Linked DNA regions of Homo sapiens: region 1 is linked to region 2. Evidence: promoter capture Hi-C in 16 types of primary human blood cells and fetal thymus (Javierre and others, 2016). All regions are on one chromosome and are shown on one strand. The core of a region is centred on a gene start or on the middle of the fragment in contact, and the rest is flanking DNA. Distances in the headings are between cores, read along the strand shown.

Region 1 (4,047 bases), core at 642-3,141, 830 kb after region 2:
TCCCTTCCTTATGCTGCTTTATTGCCATTACAGGGAAGTACTCGTGCTAACTTTTCAAATCTATGTGGATGACTTTAAGAAGGGCACCTATATGTGCAAAGAGTGCCTTGGAGATGTGCAAGTGATAGTTGTAAAAGATCATGGCCATGCTCATTATGAAGTACACGGCCTTAAGTTGCAGAACAGCCCAGGTTGGGCAGCATGTGGATCACTCCCTGGGAGCCAGCTCCCCAGATGGCCATGTGTGCTGCCTTCTGAACTGTCCATTCCTCTGTCATCCATGAAAAGCAATCTCAGCCTCCATCTAAGCTACTTGTGGGAAGAGCCCCTCGCATGTTGCACTTCCCACGCCTGCTGTCCTGTTCCCTACAATTGCTCCTTCTCAGGAACCCATTCCATCCACCTTCCTGCACTAAGGTGTCACTAACCCAAGCCTGCCTGCTCTCTGTAGCTGACTACGTTAAGGGTGAAGGAGGGTATAAAATAGCACACAGCTGAAAACATTTAAAATTGTCACCATCAAAGAGTTCTTTAACCACCTCAACAAAGGATACTTCCCATAGTATTCTTTATTACTATGACTGTGTACCCATCTGTCTTATCACTCTTCTGGAGCCCCAGACTGCTGCCCTGTTCAGAGGCACTTAATTTCTCTACCATGAACATTATTTAATCTCCTCTTTTCCTGACTGTTACAAGACCCTGAAAACTCCCTCCCTTTTGAGCTGCCAGTGAACTGTTCGGGAATTCCTGCTAGCTTGTTCTGTAGAGCAATTTAGTTTAGAGCCTCCCCTTTCCAGACAATTCGAGGTGGAGGTAGGGAGTGAGCCTTCCCTTGAATAATCCAAAAAGCCTGACTATAGTGTTTTTGTTTTTTTTTTTAAACAAAAGAGCAGCCTTCCTTCTGTTGGGCACCTCCTCGCCCCACACCTGGAGTTTAAAAGTGGCTGTAGGCATTTCTATTTTTAAATAGCATTTTTCCCTGGCTAATACACATATGCAATACACAGAAACCCCTGGAAATTCCTTGAGTTTTTATTAAAAATTCCAGATGGTGCAGCAGAGATTTCAGACACTAAAGCTTCTGTTAACAACAGGAAATTAATAACCAAGCTGACTCAAAGTCAACATCGTCTGGTTTGATGACAATAACGTGAAAAAAAAGGAAGCAGGTAACACAGCATTTGAGGTGACACAGTGTCAGAGGCACAAGCTGCAGAATGAGCAAGGCCTGGGCTTGAATCTCACATCTCCCATTTATTAGTGGGGAAACCTCGGGGAAGTCACTTAACCACTCTGTGCCTGTTTCGTCATGTGCAAAACAGAAAAATAACAGGATAGCTCTGCTGTCATGCCTCGTAAGTGTTCCTAAAAGTCACCCGCTATGGATAAACAAAGTGTAGTATATACACACAATGGAAGATTATTCAGCCTTAAAAAAGAAGGAAATTCTGACCCATGCTACAACATGCGTGAACTTTGAGGACATTATGCTAAGTGAAATAAAACAGTCACAAAAGGACATATACCGTATGATTCCACTTATAGAGTAGTCAAATTTCTAGAGACTGGAAGTAGAATGGTGGTTGCCAGGAGCAGGGGAGAAGAGAAGTGGGGAGTTGTGAACTGGGTATAGAAGTTCAGTTTTTTTAAGATGAAAATAATTCTGTGGATGGATGGTGGTGACAGTAGCACCACAATATGAATGTCCTTAGTACCACTGAGCTGTATATTTTAAAATGGACACATTGGGCTGGGCATGGTGGCTCATGCCTATAATCCCAGCACTTTGGGAGGCCAAGGCAAGTGGATCACCTGAGGTCAAGAGTTCGGGACCAGCCTGGCCAACATGGTAAAACCCCATCTCTACTAAAAATGCAAAAATTAGCCGGGCACAGTGGCACATGCCTGTAATCCCAGCCACCCAGGAGGATGAGGCAGGATAATTGCTTGAACCGAAGAGGCTGAAGTTGCAGTGAGCTGAGATCATGCCAATGCACTCCAGCTTGGGCGACAGAGCAAGACTCTGTCAAAAAAAAAAAAAAAAAATCACAGTGAAAATTTTTATGCTGTGTCTTTTTATCACAATTTAGAAAAAAATAAAATAAAATAAAACAAAGAATCACCACACTGTGCAAAAACCACAGGGTTCATGAGAACAATGGAGTTGGGGTACAATGCTCATAAACTTCCTTCGGCGACACACGAAAAATAAAAGAAACCTAATAAAAAGGGTAACACGGTTTTACACATGTTAAATGCCATAAAAGACATACATAGACACTACAATAAGCATGACGCTACACACACTTCACTCTGTATGTGGAAGCGAGCTTCAGAATTACTGTCAGGTGGTGGGAGGAGGTAGATCTGGAGTCAGAAGGAAGGTTGTAGCATCCTGTGAGTGGCCATAACACACAGGAACTGAGAATGCTGGGAGATGTTTGAAGTGTGTCCATGTGTGTGTTATGTATATTCCTACACAGCTCAGTTCAACTGGGTGCAATTTTCTGCACTCACCTTGTGTTTCTCACACACCAAATCAGACATAAGCAAATGCAAAACTAACATGATGCTCAAATAGTTTCCTGACACATGGATCGCATTGAAACAAATTTGCATTTTCAAAATAAGCACCGTAGCCAAACAGACTGTATCTACCTGATGGAATTGTTACAAGGATTATGCGATTTAATGCAGATGAAGCTTTCAATAGTGCCCACCCCATGGTAACTGCTCAAAAATAATGCTAGTGACTGTGGTGTGTGGAACAATGGCAGTGGTTATTGTGGGGCCATAGCTATTTTTCATGTTACTACTCCAAAGGGAGTAGCCCAGAGATGGACGAAGGGAGACTGCATGCCCATTTTACAGATGACAGAACTAAGGCTCAAAGAATCTGAGAAATTTCTCAAGATCATACAAGAGTCTGGTACAAAGTGCACAGAAGTCTGGACCGCTGCACCCTTCTAGGTCAACAGAGGTGACCAGATGGTTTCTGCGAACTCCTGCAGGGGACATGGTCAAGTACCCAAATGTCTGCTTACACCCCAGAAAATAAGCTGGCATATAGAAAGGGGCAAGGAACCACAGCTGGAGAGCTCCTAGGCTTTAGGGAGCCTTTAATTAAAAACAAAAATGAAAAAACAGATATAGAACTTGTTTCGTGTTCCCTGGGTGCCTGGTGGTTTAATCACTTTGCTCAGGTCAACAGGCCTATCAGGAAAAGTCTCTCCACCTTCAGGGAATTTGAGCCCTTTTTAAAAGGCAAAGAAAATGGGTAAAACTTTCAGTTCTGTCTGAAAAAACAAGACTGACTTTTCTGGTGGTTCCTATTGACTTGGAAAGAGCACATCTGCCCGTCAAATGGCATTTTACCAGCTGATCAATTTGGTGTCATTCTCATTGAATTAAATCAAATTGAAATGTAATTCCCTTCCCGGAACAAATCCCCCTGCAGGGATTCGCTGCACAGAAGTGTTTGACCTTGTACTGGCTGCCTAGAGGGCTTTCCAGAAATCTAGGGGCATATGAGAGGTCTGCAGAGCTCACGGAGTGCTGGGCACAACCCACTCAGCTGACTTTCAGGCTGGACTTTGCAGGAATTAGAAAAAGCCTCCCCCACAAGGTGGTAAAATTACAAAATGCTGCCTCGTCTGGAAGGGAGAAGCTGCTCCTTCTTCTAGGCTTTGGCAGCCCCAAACCAGGCTGCAAAGGTTGGAGAGTATAAGTGAGCTGGTTTTTAACCCCAATCACCCCCCAGACTCAACTTACCCAACCACAGGCAGCAGCACTAGTCAGCTCCCATTGCGGCCACCATAGTAGGCTCAGCTCTGAGAGATCCCTGGAGCACAGGCTCAGCTCCGGCCAACACAGATGTGGCTCCAAGGATCCAGTGGCTCTTGGCTGAACTGGCTACAACTGTCTCTACCAAGCCTTGGGAGACCCTAAGTACAAGATCACAAAGCAATCTATGCCCAGAACTCCCCATGGAACCTGAGGCTGTGCACCTCTGACCTGTGACCCTCCTGTCCTTTATCCATCCCT
Region 2 (4,547 bases), core at 693-3,192:
ACCTTTCCTAAGCTCCCCTAAACAAGGACTTCCCCTGCTTCATCCTCCAAGTTGGAACTTTGACAACACCAAAAGGTTGACATAGCTTTTCCCTTTTACTGCCTTTTCTTCTTAAATCTGCTAGCTTCCCGATAGCTATTGTGGGTTAATCTTCCTGGATCTTATCATGAGAGGGATGGAAGGTTAAGAGGCACAGATAAGCTACTCTGTGTGTGTGTGTGTGTGTGTGTGTGTGTGTGTGTGTGTGTGTGTGTGTGTGTCTGAGCCTGAGCAGAGTCTGATGAATATGTGGACTTTCATTAAAGTTCTTCCTCATGTCCCATCTTTTGATCTCAGAAAGGAGCTGTGTCCCATTCATCTAGGCAGCCCTGCTCATGTCCAAAAAATGTGTGAGTCAACCTCTGGCCCCTTGGGAGAAAGAGCCAGGGGGAAAAAGGCTACCTAGGCTGAGAAGTGTCCCCAGAGTAATCCGTTCCTTTGCGAGACCCCCTACTAGCCCAGACTTCCTTGATGGCACCTGATATCTTATAGGCCCCCAAATCCTGCCACACAACTACAGCTTGTCCCCTGGAGGGGCTTCCCTGGCCAGTCCAGAATGCTCAATTTATGAGAGATCATTGGCTCACAGGGAGGAAGGGGATGGCTTAGGTAGGCCAGCCACCTTGCAGCAGAGCTGGGCAAGAATTCAGGATTGGAGACTCTTATTAGTTTCCATCTTTCTTTTACAGAAGATGAACACTGAAGTCTTGGAACCCTGGGAATGAACCTGGAAAAATTCAAAATATGGTCTAGTCTTAGGCAAGTTTCCTTGTCCGGCTCAGCTGCTGAGACCACATATCTGGACCCTCAGTGCCCTGGCAACAGCTCTGTGCAGGCAGGATGAAGCACAGGCTTAGGTCAAGCAATCAGCCGTCAAAATCCACACTCTCACCTGTGAGTGGCTGTTCAACCTTGAACATGTTACTTTTTATGTTAATGAAACTCAGTTTTCTAGTCCTATAAATTTGGGGCTATCATCAACCATTAAGTGATATTAAACCCAGTGCCACACAGGCAAGTACCTAGCAGTGTCCAAAGGCCCCCAGAATGACACTTTTTCATCTTTTCTCTTCCCTCCAATTGAAAGACTAGTGGAATATCTGCAATTACTTTGACCAAAAGCCAGAAGCCGGCCAGTTTGAGTGTAGCTGTTACAGCTTTGTGTTCTAAACCTAAGAAATGGGGACCCCTCACATGAGAGTGGGGAGGCTTCTGGATGTGCTACAAATTCCATTTCATTTTCATGAACTCCAGTGTTAATTAATAAAATCTCAAGGTTCTCCCCCCTCTTTCGCCTCACATTTCTTCAGAGAAATGAAGAGTTCCAACTCATAGCCCAAGTGCTCAGGTTTTAAATTAGACAACTTTGTCCTGACAGGAACCAAGTCACAGCTGTCATACCTGATTACTTTTAGAGTTACTACTAAACCCTTTGTATGGCATGAGCTGCCACTGTTCAAGGCAAACAGAAACACTTCACATTTTATCATGACAGCCCTGGATCTATCCACCTCCCCATGTTCATTATGCTCAGCCTGTCTTTGGAAGGGATGATGAGGCATCCTGAAAATCGTATAGTGAGGAAGGCAGACCCCATGGCCTGTCACTACAGCCTAGGGATTTTAAGCCCCTAAAGTGCAGCAAAACCCACTGCCTCCAGGAAGCCAAGGAGAATTATTTCTGGGGGACATAGCTGCCTCATAGCCTACTATGAATGAACCATCATCTTTCATGAGAGGCAAACATTGACCCTCAAGTAACCAACCAATACGAGCACCTGTACACAAATGCCCACAGGTGTTGGCTGGGATTGGCTGGCTTGTGGATGATGTCACAGTTTCCCTCCTCTGACTCAACAATGCCATCAGCACTGAAAAGGCTGAGCCCTGACTACAGCTCTTGCAGACAGAAAAATTCGCTGCAAGTACAGCACTTTCTAGATTGCTCCTGGAGTGTGGGAACAACAGTCTCTCCTGTCCACGTTACTGAATCCAGAAAAAAGGTGAACTTACGAACATGGGAAAAGAAATCCAGCTAAAGCCTAAGGCAAATGTCTCTTCTTACGTTCACTTTTTGCTGAATTACAGAAACAAATTCAAGGAGCAGCAGCCAAATACCTATGTTGGCTTTAAAGAGTTCTCTAGAAAGTGTTCGGAAAAATGGAGATCCATCTCAAAGCATGAAAAGGCCAAATATGAAGCCCTGGCCAAACTCGACAAAGCCCGATACCAGGAAGAAATGATGAATTATGTTGGCAAGAGGAAGAAACGGAGAAAGCGGGATCCCCAGGAACCCAGACGGCCTCCATCATCCTTCCTACTCTTCTGCCAAGACCACTATGCTCAGCTGAAGAGGGAGAACCCGAACTGGTCGGTGGTGCAGGTGGCCAAGGCCACAGGGAAGATGTGGTCAACAGCGACAGACCTGGAGAAGCACCCTTATGAGCAAAGAGTGGCTCTCCTGAGAGCTAAGTACTTCGAGGAACTTGAACTCTACCGTAAACAATGTAATGCCAGGAAGAAGTACCGAATGTCAGCTAGAAACCGGTGCAGAGGGAAAAGAGTCAGGCAGAGCTGATGGATCCAGTTTGAAAAAACAAAATGCCATTCAACCGTATTTCCTGTTCCTGGTCTCATGTGTGGCATTAGAGTAGCTGTGACTGATGCTTTGTGGAGGAGGGAGTGGCTTGGTAGAGGAGAGACTGATCCTGAGGAGGGGAACGGAGAGGACGGGAAGGGAAAGAAGGGGAAGGGAGGAGAGGAGGGAGGGGAAGGGAAGAGAGGGGAAGGGAAGGGAAAGGAGGGGAATGGAGGGGAGGGAAAGGGAGGGAAGGGCTGGCTTTGAGAGAAGTGTCAGCAGTAAACAAAAGGTGTGACTTGGGCCACTGGGTGGGAGCCTCCAGGTGTAAAGTAGCAGCAGTCATGGAGGTAGAAGCACCGTGGTTCTGAGTGGTGATCCAGGTGAGAGGACCCTACTCAGTGTCAGGTTCAGGAACATGACGTCTGACTCTGCTAAGCAGTGGCAGGACTGGGAAGACTGCCAGGGCTAGAAGGCCTAGAGTTCAAGCTCACACTTGAGGCCCCAGGAGAAACATATGGCATCTGAGTTGAGACAGGCCTGAGGGAACCCAGGATTTCCAGCAACACTTAGATACGCTCAGTGGGGCCAGGGTGAACTCCCAGGGGTGTTCCCTAATCAGGAGGAGGCAAGGGGCAGATTTTACCAAAAAAAAAAAAAAAAAGCAGGGGGCTGGGGAACCAGATCAATCGTTTTTCAGTGGATAGATGTATAATATGTGGCCTCCACTCCTCTTCCTCTTGTTCATAGCACTCTGACTCCCTTTCGTGACCAAGGCTGGATAAGAGGGCAGGATCGCCTTGGCCACAGTCATTGGCTCAGTGGTGGGCATGTGACCCAAGTTGGTCCTATCAGGGTGGACCTCTGGACCTGTGTAAGGAGTCCTGGGGGACACCGCAGTCCAGGGAATGTGGACAGCCATTTGCCATCTCATAGGGCCCAAGAAGGAGGCCGAGATGCTAGAATCCCTGTGGCATCAGAACAGTCTCCTAAACTTTTCATTGAAGATGAACAACACATTTCATTTTTTCCCTGACATGGTTTGACTTAGGTTTTTTCCTACTTGACTATAATTTGACACAAATGGGATTGTGCTGTAAGTGTCTGTCTGGTAACTAGATTTTTCAGGCAAGAATATACTGTAGGCAACATTCCATACCAATCAATAAAGATTGAAATGGAATATTTTGAAATGGTTCTTCTGACTTCTTGACATCAAAAATACTGGGCCAAAATGCAAAGCTGCTTTTTTGTCACCAGTTTATACATGCAACAGATCTCCCTAACTCCACCTCTAAGGACCCCTATTCCATGATAGAGGGACCTACACTTTCTACTCTACTGCGCTGAACAGTAAAAATACATATTTTTGAACAGTCTTTTAGAACTGCATGAGCCTTTAGGGGATGAGAGGTAATACAGTGATTTAGAAATTCAGGGTCTGGAATCAAACAGGTCATTTGTGGAGGATTTTCATGTGCCAGGCCATTTGCTGGGTACAGGGAGGCACATTACGCACTACTGCTAAGTTCCCGCCCTATAAAAAATTTCCTTCTGACAGGAGAGATGGACTTGGGCATAAATTGCAGCACTGCAAAGCAAGATGATGAAAGTGAATGCAGAAAGTAATGGGGGAGGGACTGGGGACCACCCAGCAAGCCTGTGCTGCAGTCTTCATGAAGGAAGCAGCCTTATTCCACTTGACAACTTTGTAGGCATGCTGGCAAAATTCCCGTTCCGCATTCCCCACAGCTGCTATTCCAACTTGGCTCTGCTTCTCTTCCCTCTCAGGAGACGCCCGCATTTTCTGCTTCATTGAGAAAATAGAGATCCTCAGATATAAGTGCTCTCAGTTTCCTTCATTCTTGAAATGTAATCCATACCAATCCTTTCCTCCTGGTCTCACCCCTCACGGAGAGCTATCCCCCTCC

Evidence for each region. Contacts are between HindIII fragments. The CHiCAGO score rates a contact against its expected background, and 5 or more counts as called.
Region 1: a fragment that was not itself captured here is called in contact with the fragment with the promoter of HMGB4 in region 2 in 1 of 17 cell types (M2 macrophages); the score reaches 5.6 in M2 macrophages.

The regions. Positions count from the first base shown.
Region 1 is chr1:34,689,332-34,693,378 of GRCh38, forward strand. No RefSeq gene overlaps it. Among named protein-coding and RNA genes, the nearest start is that of MIR552, 22 kb to the left of the region's middle. The HindIII fragment of the contact is 1,625 bases long and covers 1,080-2,704 here.
Region 2 is chr1:33,862,137-33,866,683 of GRCh38, forward strand. HMGB4 (high mobility group box 4) reads left to right here and starts at 1,943. Exons shown (of 1, transcript NM_001379301.1): 1 at 1,943-2,655. The coding sequence starts at 2,056. The coding sequence ends at 2,616. All of the region lies in intron 5 of CSMD2 (CUB and Sushi multiple domains 2), which reads right to left. The HindIII fragment of the contact is 10,607 bases long and covers 1-4,547 here.